3 separate regions of the Homo sapiens genome follow, and regions 1 and 3 are each linked to region 2. The links are contacts of gene promoters, found by promoter capture Hi-C in blood cells and fetal thymus (Javierre and others, 2016). All regions are on one chromosome and are shown on one strand. The core of a region is centred on a gene start or on the middle of the fragment in contact, and the rest is flanking DNA. Distances in the headings are between cores, read along the strand shown.

Region 1 (4,121 bases), core at 1,172-3,671, 510 kb before region 2:
CGGAGTCTCAACTCTGTGAGCTGGGCTGGAGTGCAATGGTGTGATCTCAATTTACTGCAACCTCTGCCTCCCGGGTTCAAGCGATTCTCCTGCCTCCACCTCCCGAGTAGTTGGTTTTACAGGTGCCCGCCATTACGCCTGGCTAATTTCTATATTTTTAGAAGAGACGGGGTTTAACCACGTTGGCCAGGCTGGTCTTCAACTCCTGACCTCGTGATTTGCCTGCCTTGGCTTTCCAAAGTGCTGGGATTACAAGCGTGAGCCACCGTGCCTGGACTTTTTTTTTTTTTTTTTTTTTTGAGACGGAGTCTCACTCCAGCCCAGGCTGGAGTGCAGTGGCACAATCTCGGCTCACTGCAACCTCTGCCTCCCGGGTTCAAGTGATTCTCCTGTCTCAGCCTCCTGAGTAGCTGGGACTACAGGTGTGAGCTACCACGCCCGGCTAATTTTTGTATTTTTAGCAGAGACAGGGTTTCACCAACGTTGGTCAAGCTGCCAGGCTGGTCTCAAACTCGTGACTTCGTGATTCACCCGTGCTGGCCTCCCAAAGTGCTGGGATTACAGGCGTGAGCCACCGAACCCAGCTCCAGCCCCGGCCCCGCACCTCCCCCTCTTTGAGATGGAGTCTCACTCCAGCCGGGCTGGAGTGCAGTGGCACAGTCTTGGCTCACTGCAACCTCCGCCACCTGGGTTCAAGTGATTCTTTTGCCTCAGCCTCCTGAGTAGCTGGGACTACAGGTGTGTGCCACCATGCCCAGCTAGTTTTTGTTTTTTTAGTAGAGACAGGGATTCGCCATGTTGGCCAAGCTGGTCTCGAACTCCTGACCTCAAGTGATCCACCCGCCATGGCCTCCCAAAGTGCTGGGATTACAGGCATGAGCCACTGTGCCCAGCCATGTTCTCTTGTTCTTTATGCAGTCTTTTCTGAATTGAACTTACGATTCACAAATTTCTTGTTAACTTATTGTATTTAGTTTATTTTACAACTTTTTTTCTTTTTTGAGACAGTGTCTCACTCTATCACCTAGGATGGAATGCAGTGAAGTAATTATGGCTCATTGCAGCTTTGACCTCCTGGGCTCAAGTGATCCCGCTGCCTCAGTCTCCTGAGTAGCTGGAACCACAGGTGTGCGCCACCATGCCTGGCTAATTTTTTAAATTTTTAGTAGAGACAAGTTCTCAATATGTTGCCCAGGCTTGTTTCAAACTCCCAGGCTCAAGTGATCCTCCCACCTCAGCCTCCTACTGGGATTACAGACATAAGCCATCACACCTGGCCTCCAATTTATTTCTAAAAACTAAGGAAGAGTCATAAAAATGCCAGAATGATCATGAAATTCTCTAAACTGGAACCCTGTAAAAATTTGGAAAACAAGTGTGGGGAAAACAGAACTGTAGTTATCAAAGATAATAGAATCTGAGTTTACTCCTTTATAAAATACATCATCAAGCTAGGTAACATCTAAGGGTTTTTCCAGTGTTGAAATTTTAGTCCCTTATAAATCTATTTTATTTAGTCCTTCATCCAAATTTGACTTTTTTGGGGGAGGGGGACACAGTCTCCCTCTGTCGCCCAGGCTGCAGTGCAATGGTGCTATCTCGGCTCACCTACGCCTCTAGGGTTCAAGTGATTCTCATGCCTCAGCCTCCTGAGTAGCTAGGACTACAGGCACCTGCCACCAGGCCCAGTTGATTTTTGTATATTTAGTAGAGATGGGGTTTCAGCATGTTGGCCAGGCTGGTCTCGAACTCCTGACCTCAAGTGATCTGCCCGTTTTGGTTTCCCAAAACTCTGGAATTAACAGGCATGAGCTACCGTGCCCGGACCCAACTCTTTGACTTCTGACAGACTTAAAGCCTTATGATTACCAATTTTTGTCAGTAGATGGCACTGTATCAATGAAACAAAATTGATCAACAAAACTGGCCAAAGAATTACCTGGATGGCAGGTAATCCAAGACAAGGAAGAGTTACGTCTCCGCTTGAGTTTAAAATAATACCAATTTGAGGTTAAACTGGTTATTCCTAGCATCCTTAGGAAAGGAAGCTTACTTAGTGTAATCATTAAGTTTTCTAAACACTGTAAAACTGGCATGTATAGACAGAATGCACTTAGAGTCCATCTACAAGGCTGGGTGCGGTGGTTCACGCCTGTAATCCCAGCACTTTGGGAGACTGAGGCAGGCAGATCACAAGGTCAGGAGTTCGAGACCAGCTTGGCCAATATGGCGAAACCCCATCTCTACTAAAAGTATAAAAATTAGCTGGGTATGGTGGCGCTCGCCTGTAGTGCCAGCTACTCGGGAGGCTGAGGCAGGAGAATTGCTTGAACCCGGGAGGCGGAGGTTGCAGTGAGCCGAGATCGCGCCACTGCACTCCAGCCTGGTGACAGAGCGAGACTCCATCTCAAAAAAAAAAAAAAAAAAAAAAAAAAAAAAAAATATATATATATATATATATATATATATATATATATATATATAAAATTTGTCTTAGAAAAATAAATAGCATTTCTTTTTGAAAAGTTTAATCTATTTATTTGCTTATTTAGAGACCAGGTTATGAGACTGCCTAATTTTTGTATTTTCGGTAGAGAAGGGTTTTTGCCATGTTGCCAATGCTGGTCTTGAACCCCTGGGCTCAAGCGATCCACCTGCCTTGACCTCCCAAAGTGCTGGGATTACTGGCATGAGATCTGGCCAAAAAATAAAACAGCACTGACTATTATCCACCTGATCCTTCTGCTATGAGCCGAAAGGGTCAGCATAGCTTCTAACTGATCTCTACCTACTGCAAGCTTATCCTCCCTTTATCATTAATTAGCATGGCCTCAGAGAGGAACAGTCATAGAATGGCATAATTGTTAGGTAAAGAAAGCGCCCAAATGGGGAAATCTAAAGTAAAGCATTCTCATGACTTCGATCTTTACTCACTTTTATTTTTTGAGACAGAGTTTCGCTCTTGTCGCCCAGGCTGGAGTGCAATGGAGCACTCTCAGCTCACTGCAACCTTCACCTCCTGAGTTCAAGCGATTCTCCTGTCTCAGCCTCTCAAAGAGCTAGGATTACAGGCGCTCACCACCATGCCCAGCTAATTTTTTTAATACTCTTAGTAGAGACAAGATTTCACCATGTTGGCCAGGCTGGTCTCGAACTCCTGACCTCAGGTGATCTGCCTGCCTCGGCCTCCCAAAGTGCTGGGATTACAGGCCTAAGCCACTGAGCCTGGCCCTTTCCTTACTTTTTAAGTACTGTCTTAAGAGCAACTCAAATAAGAAGAATATAGAAAACAGATCCCCGCTTCTTCCTGAGCTTTCTTTACTGGCTCATCCCAGAGCATCTACATCCAGAGATACTGTATTACTGGAGATTCCCAGCCAGCCTTCCCAACGTGTTTTTTTGTTTACAATTAGTTCTCTAGGGTTTCAAGAAAGCTATTTGTCAAAATCAGTAGAGAGGTCAGGGCTCGGCAGCACACACCTGTAATTCCAGCACTTTGGAAGGCCTAGGCAGAAGGACTGCTTGAGCCCAGGAGTTTGAGACCAGCCTGGGCAACGTAGTGAGACCCCATCTCTACAAAAAATAATCAGCTGGGTGTGCTGGGAGGATCGCTTAAGCACAGGAGGTTGAGGCTGCTGTGAGCTGTGATTGTGCCACTGCACTCCAGCCTGGGTGAGGAAGCAAGACTGTCTTTAAAAAAATGATAAAGAGGCTGGGCGTGGTGGCTCACACCTGTAATCCCAGCACTTTGGGAGGCTGAGGTGGGCAGATCACGAGGTCAGGAGATCGAGCCCATCCTGGCTAACACGGTGAAACCCCATCTCTACTAAAAATACAAAAAATTAGCTGGGTGTGATGGCGGGCACCTGTAATCCCAGCCACTCGGGAGGCTGAGGCAGGAGAATGGCGTGAACTCGGGTAGCGGAGCTTGCAGTGAGCCGAGATCATGCCACTGCACTCCAGCCTGGGGGACAGAGCGAGACTCCATCTCAAAAAAAAAAAAAAAAAAAAAAAAGGAAAAATGATCTATAATTTTATTTATTTTTTTGAGATGGAGTCTCTGTCGCCCAGGCTGGAGTGCAGTGACGCAATATCAGTTCACTGCAACCTCCACCTCCCAG
Region 2 (3,876 bases), core at 1-2,500:
CGGGGGAGCAGGACCCAGGCGTCCCGGCACCCAGCTCACCACAGCTCCAATCCTCTCTACTCCAGATGCCCACATTCAAGCTCGATTTCTGCACCCCTTTCTACTGCATCCCCCACTTCTGCAGGCAGCCAGTGCGCCCGGCTTTGTCTCTTGCTCGCTCCTAGTGCCTCACCCTTGGCTGGGCTCAGGCGGCCGCTCGCCCCGGGAGGGAGGAGAGCGGTTGCACTTTTGCCCCGGAAAGCTCCTTTTACTGTTCACCCCTTCTTTGCTAGCGACAGTCTCAAAATTTCAGGGGTAAGCAGGACCCTTCCCCACATTATATGAACCCCATCCTTTATCCTAAAGCTGGTTCAGCTGCGCTAATAAAAACCTAAGCCGAAGCTGGAAACAAATTATTAAAAATACCCCCCTCTTAACAGAGAGACCCTTTTTGGCTCTGTCTACGAAGCTATGAGGCCCCTCTTAGATACTTCTCCCCCTTAGAAAAATGAATCTATATTTAGGGTAAAGCCAAGCTCTCCTTGTCCCCCCGATCCCACCCCAAAACGCAGAGAAGGAAAGCCGAGAAGACAAAAAAGAGAGAGAGAATTACCATGGCTGATGTGAAGCTTCCTCATCCAGGGGAATATTTGCGGAGTCTGCCCCTCGGGCGCGGCTGTGGAGGTGGCCATGGGCTCTGGCTGCGCCCGAGCTAGGCTGGGGCTGCTTAGCTGGCTTGCCGCTTCCTCAGGCTCCGAGGACGCGCTGGCCTCGTCTATTTCGGTGAAATTGGCGCTGGAGCTGGCTGAGGTCGCCTGGTCGGAGGGGGACGAAGCAGAGGGCTTGGCGCCGTGGCTGTCGCCGTTGGTGCAGGGCAGGGACTCGGGCGAGGACAGGGAGCAGCTCGAAGCCGCTTGCCTGAAGCGGGGCTCCTGGGCGGGCGCGGGGAAGGCGCGCGAGCTCTCGCCCACCGCCCCAAAGTGGCTGGAGGAGGCCGAGGAGCGGTTGACGCTGAGGTCCATCCCATTGTAATTGTAGCCGTAAGAGCCGGTGTGCATGGCAGCGGGATCCCTGTAAGAGCCGCTCAGAGAGCTGCCACTGCCATAATTTAGCAACTGATAGTCCGGGCCATTTGGATAACGCCCCGAGAAGGAGTTTACAAAGTACGAGCTCATTTGGGTGATTTTGGAGGGCTTGATTTGTGGATCGTGGTCGTTATAACCCTGTGCTTCACGATTTATGATGTATTAATGAATTATAGCGATGCACTGTACTTCGTTTTGCTATGTATGCGGCCAAATATGGGGGGGGGGTTGGAAGGGGGGTGGGGGGCGTTAGGGAATCACGTGCTTTTGTTGACCAGTCGTAAATTCTCGCTGATGACCTCAAGAGGTAATTCATGCTCTATGGTTACAAATAATGACGATCCGAGAATCGTTAGGGCCGATTCAATGCGAGCCTCCGAGAGAGGGGGAAAAAAGGAGAAGGGGGAGAAACAGAGAGAAGGTTGGCTTTGGCCTCTGAGCAGAGCGCGCCACCTCCCGGCGACCGACGGGAGCGCGGGCGTGAGACCGCCATGGCGGCGGGCGGCTGCCTCCCTGCTGGCTCCCTGCAGGCTCCCTGCAGTCGCCGGGAGAGAAAGAAACCCGGCCAAGGCTCAGCCACAGGGTTGAGCCTTTTAGAGCAGGGGTTGGGCTTTTTACCCACTTTCTTGTGGGTGGGGTTAGCCTCTCTATTTGGTTCTTTCTCCCTACATCATCATTGTCGTTATTATTTTAACTTTGGATGAGAAGATCAAAGATAGAGTTGCTTTTCCCTTTCTTGGGCTTTGCAAGTCTCCGAATTGGAGGCGGAAATGGGGGAAGGGTTGGAAGTTGTGTGTGAAAAACAATTATTGCAACGGGTTTTCCCCAGGAGCTTAGTCCGGCCTGCATCCTGGTGGAACTGCTGTTACCGGTCCACAGCGCCCAGGCCGAGCCGGCAGGGCTGGGCGGGAGGCTTGAAAAAGAAGGAGAAGCGTTCACTTCTCCTGGGCCACTTGGAAGTTCGAAATCCCCTTCCGGACCTCCTTGGTGGTCCTTAGCCCAGGCGTGGGGAGTGACAGAGCAGGACAGGGACCCCAGAAACCGAGCACAGCTGGGGCTAAGCGGCCTAGTTGCCGAAAAGACTGCAGCGGCCACCGCGTCTGCTGCTTAGTTTGAGTAGTAACATGTGTCTGAGAGTTTGTAAAGCGGGATCCCTTCCCCTCCTCCTCGGCTATTGCATTCGGAGGCCCCACTACAGGTCCCTCACTCGCAGCTAGGCAGTTTGAGAATTTGCCTGGTGGCAGCCGCCTTCCCGGAAAAGGGGTTCCAAGGACCCGCATGCTTTGCTGAGCACGCTGGGCGGCCAGAGACCGCCGCAGCTGGTCTCCTATTAGGAGGGGACTATTTTCTTTAAAAATAAGAAAGGAAGCGAGAGGGCGGAGGAATAAAGGAAAACAGTGACCGCAGCTTGCCTTCTGGGTGCCGGTGCAAGCAGAGAGAGAATGAGCCATTCTGGGTTGAGAGGATGACACTAAAAGCCCCATCACCTGGCCTCCTGCCCTGGGGTCTCCAAGGAGCAAGGGAAAGTTGTGGCCTTCGGCCTGTGCCTGGCTGGTGGCTTTACATTCCCCTACTTGAGGCTGATCTCCTACTTGAGGCTGATCTGCTACTTGAGGTGGGAAGGGGCACCTGGAGCCTTCAGCTGCAGGGTGAGAGATACCCAGTGGCCCCATTTTTCAGTCTCCAGAGCCACAGGCCAGGAGCGGAGGGCCAAGGCTGGCGAAAAAACCTGGCCATGTGGACGGGCCAAAGACCAGGGGTCGCTGCGAAGGTGAGGACAGAAAAGCGCTGCAGAGGCCCCCAGACTATGGCTCCGTCTCCGCCAGAGAGCTTTAGGGGCCTCAGTGGCTCCCTTAGTGCTGTGTATACACGAGGAAAGGCTAGAGAATGAGAGGGACACAGCACCTCTCCATCCCCCAAGTCTGCACGGGGAGAAGCGGCTGTGAGCCTCAGCACCAGGGAAACGCAGCGCTGGGGCCTGGGCAGGACTGATCGCTCCAGCCTTTATCTCAGCTGTAACTTCCCAGTCGAACAGGGCTCGCTTCGGCGGGCCAGGGCTCTCGCCTTTGCTGAAGAATTCTGGCTCAGGAAAGATGGAGAGGCTGGGGGTTGAGGAGAGAGGAAAAAATGGCAGGGGAGGATTGGAGGTGACCGAGCGTCGAGTTTTCACATCTTTATTATTGTTGTTGTTGTTGTTATTATTATTATTATTATCATCATCATCATCATCATCATCATCGAAGTATTTCACGTCCAGAGCTAAGACAAGACTACAAACACAACACATAGAAAATTAATAAAATAGAACTTTGTTTTCTTCTGAGGCTCCTCTTCTTACTTCTAGGTAGTATGTGCTCCTTCCAGTGGCTTTGGGGAGGGGGTGGGAGAGACGACAGGTCTGGGATCAGGGAGTCTTCAAGGCCCCCGCTGAGGGGACAGCGAATCTACCATTGAACCGTGCACGGGGGACATGGACAAAATGAGACGCGACAGGGACAAGAGCATTTTGCTCTGCTTCCAGGAAACATCAAGTGAGTCCGCTCCTCAGTTCTCACCAGGAAGCCTGATCAGGCTGAGGCGAGTTCCTCGGGAAGGAAGGGCGCGCGGGATGCTGGGTGGGCTCGAGTAGTGAGGCCTCAGAGCACCCGCCGGGAGCTGTGCGGGCGGGGGCGTCCAGGAGAGCGCTGGGCCCCGCCTGTCTGCGCCGGAGAGCAGGTCTCCTGGCTCCCCCACCCGAGAGCCTTCCTTCCCGGGTCTCTCTGACGCCCTCGGCTCCCCACAGGCCTTTCCCCTCGCGTCCTCCCTCCCTTTC
Region 3 (3,867 bases), core at 904-3,403, 570 kb before region 2:
GCTCCGTGGTATCAGCGTCGCACCCCCTCATGGTGTTAAATAGTCCCCTTTCCCTTGTCCCACATCTCTGCCCAATCACACAACCACAGGGACACGCCCCACCCTGGTACTGGATATCCCCACGATGAGCCACAGAAAGTGCAGGAGCCCTTATATGAACACACACACACACACACACTTCCTAGGCCAAGAGAGAAGGAGACCCTTGGCAGAAGACAAAAGCAGGTTTATTAGGGCCCTGGGGCCAGGAATGCCTAAGATATGAGTTAAGGCCAGGGCCGTGAGAAAAGGTGACTCTCCTGAGGCCAAACCTTTGCATCTCAGAAGCCCTGGCTGGAGACCTTAGGAGTCAGTTCTGGGAGGGACCTGGGGATACAGAGGGGTCTCTCCTGACCCTGGGATCTTTGGGCTTTTGCCAGGATTGGGGAAATGATCTGGGGGGCAGGGAGCCTTGAATCCACAGCCTTCATTTCAATAACGACCATTTAATTTGTTCCTTGGCAGACTGAAGAACCTGGGGTGGGGTGGGGGAGGTTGAGAGAGAATTGAGAATGTCAAATGCCTCCATACACAGTCATGGGGAGGTCCACAGCCCACCTTGCCGAAGCGCCCCTGCAACCACCGGTCACTAGGTGGCAGCAGCTTGTCTCCACTTGGCTTAAACGCGGCCAACCCTCCAAGTCAGAAAGCGCAGACCAAACCGGCTGCAGCCAGCTCCCACCTCAGGCCCAAGCCTGCCCAGACCTCTGGCTCCTGCATCTGCAGCGTGGGTGTGGCAGCAGCCTGTCTCCCCGCTGTCATGCCATGAGAGTTCCCGCCCACAGTGCCACGTCCAGGCGGAGACGGGGCCCAGGCCTGACACTCCCTGTGCTCAGACGCCTCAGCAAACCCCTAGCTCTGGCCATGGCTGGCAATGTGTCCTCAACACCCCACCGCAACCCACTGCTGATGTGGCATAGCTGGCAAAGGGTGGCCAGCCAGACCCTGCGGTGGGATGCCTGGTGGAAAGTCTCAGCCCAGTGCTTACACAAATCCATATAAGTGCACACGTGCATGCACAATACCAAAGCAGGAGAGGGGGACAGGACTCAGGTGTGTCCCTCAGATTGTCCCTCCAGCCACTCAGCCTTATTCCCCTCTAGAGAAGGAGGGAACGCTGTGTCTCCTCCTCCTGCACAGTCTCCCTCCTCTCTTGGGGACAGTGGCTTAGGGTTCCCCTGATTCTCCTAGCCAGAATCTAACTTTGTCCTCATTTTATCCCCCATTGGCTACCTGTAGCTTCCTTTGTTTTTACTCAAGAATTCCATCAAAAATGCTATGTTTTCATTCTTTCTCCCTTTGGAGAAATACTGATGGTTATTCAGCATGTGTTAACTGGCTTGGAGCCCTACTAAGAGCTTGTCACGCATTGGCTCATTGAATTCTCATAACTCCATGAAGAGGGTCCTGTTATTATGTGAGGCCCAGAGAGGTTGAGTAACTTGCCCTAGGTCACCCAGCTTTAGGTGGTAAGGTAGAACACGTACCCTGGGATGACTCCCATGAGCACCTGTGTTCTTATCTGCTCTGCTTATTACTCCCTACCCTCTTTCCACTCTAAAAATTGCCTTGCAGCTGCATTCATTCCAGCATGGTATGAGGAAACATGGGGAATCAGAGGGGAGGGCGAAGCAGAGTGAGCGCTAAGGGCAGTGCAGGAAAATGGGCGCCACACCTGGGACTCCACACGAGACAGCACAGGCTCATCTCGGTAGGGCCACCACAGCACGAGGAGTTAGCGCCAGGGCGGGAAGTTCCATACAAGCAGGATTAGTCTGAGCAGAGAGACCTGCAGGTGGACAGAAGAGAGGTCAAGACAGTCGTCCTGAACTAGCAGGAAGTTTGTGCAGCTGGGGAACTGATCAGGCTTCAGAGCCAGGAACCTCCCCCTGGCCTTACGCTCTGCAAGCACCTCCAGATAAGACCATGCAGGGTTGTGGCAGGTTCTTCCATAGCCAGGTCACTCAGGGGTAAGGTGACAAGTGATGAGTGGGGAAAGTCAGATCCTATCATGGGTTTGAGAGTCCCTTAACAATCCCAGTGTGCACCCTAAGTGGCAAGGACAGGGGTTAAGAGCCAAACTCCTATTTGGTACCCTTTCCAGGTTTCGGTAGAGGGCGCATCAGAGGCCTGAGTTCCCAGATTTTTGGGGTGCACAAGTGACCCAGCCATCTCCAAGGTAGGCAGCTCATCCTAGTTTCAATCCAACTAAACCAAGCCAGGAGATGAGGTGGGCTGATGGTAACATGCCCATCCATCCATTAGTACCCAGCTCCCCTGAGTTGGAGAGCCCGGAGGCCTCCAGTGAGTCTTTCCAAGATATGACCTGTCACTGCCTCATCCCTTCCCTTCTCACCCCTGATTTTTCAGACTTGATAACTTCACTGGGTCCCCCTAGGATGCTCTAGGATGCTCTGCTCCCCGTATCTCTCTAGACCATTTCTAGCCAAGGCAGATGCAGGGGGGCCTACCTGGGCCACACTCTGTTCAGTCAAGCCGCCATCATCTGCCTGTAAGGAAGCAGAGTCAAGGGGTGGGGTAGGGCCAGCATGAGGGTCCTGGGTCAGGGAGGTGAAGGAAAGGGGCTTGGGGGTATGGGTGAGGTGGTGCAGTGGTTAGGGTGATTCAGAGCTGCACCTGTGTCACTGGTTAATAGAAGTCCTGCAGCCTGTCATTTGGAAGCCAGGACCTCTGGGATTGTGCTATGGTGCGTGGAGGGTGAGGGAAGATGGGAAGAAAGATGGGAAGAAAGGTTTCATCCAGACATGAGAAAGCCAAACAAGGCAGGGAGGTTCTATCCATACCCCTGACCCCCAACCTCAAGGCCAAGGCAGCCACCTAGTGCCTCTTTGAAGATGTATTTATTTCCCCAGTCTATACTTCCTACCAGGAAAGAGGTGAGGTACTTGTGCTCCTAGCCGGGGAGAGGACAGGAAGATTTCTTCCATTAACTGGCATCCCACCCAGAAACTGCTGCTCATCTCACCCCTAACAAGTGTGTCAGCCCAGTGGTTGGCTTCTGCTAGAGGAGCTTGGGCTTCTACCATCTAGGCCCTAGCAGCCCTATTCCCAGGGAGGACAGGAAGGGCAGCCTAAAAGAGGAGGTGTCCAGGAAGACTCTTACCCTAAAATTCACCTTCTGGATCACTTGCTGGGGGTCACTCTCCAGAATCACACTACAAGATGAGAGGAAAAACCAGGAGGCAAATCAGTGGCACAATCCTCCCCTCCGCCCCTTCTCCTTGCCAAGCCTCTTCCCTCTCCGAAGGCATCCTGCAACATCTCCACCTTCCAGGTCCCTTCCCACTGATAGCCCTCAAGTCAGAACTCTCCCTCAGCATGGAGAGCCCTCAGCTCTGATTCTTTGATGCTTCAACCCAGTGGTCCACATGCTTTGTCATCCCTGGGCAAAATCTTTGAAACTGGATAAGAACAGTCTGGTCTAGGATGATCAGGTTGTCAAAAGCAGGGACTCTCAAAACTCAGAGCTCTTGAAAGTTCACTTCACTTTCTGGGTATAGGATTGGATTCCCTGTGAAAAGAGTTAGGAAGAGAGGCCCTGGGGGTTCTTATCTTGTTGCACTGTTATTTTATGGCATGGGGTCATGCCCTGCATAAAAGAAATGAAACTCCAAAAATCAGCATCTACCTTCTCCCCTACTTCCTCCCTTTTTTTTTTTTTTTAAGGCTGGGCACGGTGGCTCATGCCTGTAATCCCAGCACTTTGGGAGGCCGAGGCGGGTGGATCACCTGAGGTCAGGAGTTCCAGACCAGCCTGGCCAACATGGCGAAACCCTGTCTCTAGTAAAAGTACAAAAATCAGCCAGG

What was found. The method cuts DNA at HindIII sites, captures the fragments that hold promoters and counts their contacts. A CHiCAGO score of 5 or more calls a contact.
Region 1: a contact is called between a fragment that was not itself captured here and the fragment with the promoter of HOXB5 in region 2, in 1 of 17 cell types (total CD4 T cells). The highest score is 7.3, in total CD4 T cells.
Region 3: a fragment that was not itself captured here is called in contact with the fragment with the promoter of HOXB5 in region 2 in 4 of 17 cell types (erythroblasts, naive B cells, fetal thymus and 1 more); the score reaches 6.2 in erythroblasts.

Annotation. Positions count from the first base shown.
Region 1 is chr17:48,078,511-48,082,631 of GRCh38, forward strand. The region is part of intron 1 of CBX1 (chromobox 1); the gene reads right to left. Among named protein-coding and RNA genes, the nearest start is that of CBX1, 21 kb to the right of the region's middle. The HindIII fragment of the contact is 750 bases long and covers 2,047-2,796 here.
Region 2 is chr17:48,592,529-48,596,404 of GRCh38, forward strand. HOXB5 (homeobox B5) reads right to left here and starts at 1,251. Exons shown (of 2, transcript NM_002147.4): 1 at 593-1,251. The coding sequence starts at 1,154. All of the region lies in intron 1 of HOXB-AS3 (HOXB cluster antisense RNA 3), which reads left to right. It overlaps HOXB6 (homeobox B6), which reads right to left. Exons shown (of 4, transcript NM_018952.5): 4 at 3,223-3,876. RefSeq lists a silencer at 875-924 and enhancers at 1,181-1,688, 1,390-1,459, 1,689-2,194, 3,237-3,876. The HindIII fragment of the contact is 5,828 bases long and covers 607-3,876 here.
Region 3 is chr17:48,025,962-48,029,828 of GRCh38, forward strand. It overlaps COPZ2 (coat protein complex I subunit zeta 2), which reads right to left. Exons shown (of 9, transcript NM_016429.4): 7 at 3,164-3,215; 8 at 2,511-2,549; 9 at 206-514. The coding sequence ends at 467. Among named protein-coding and RNA genes, the nearest start is that of MIR10226, 5.0 kb to the right of the region's middle. RefSeq lists enhancers at 267-825, 826-1,382 and a silencer at 1,766-2,032. The HindIII fragment of the contact is 4,814 bases long and covers 1-3,867 here.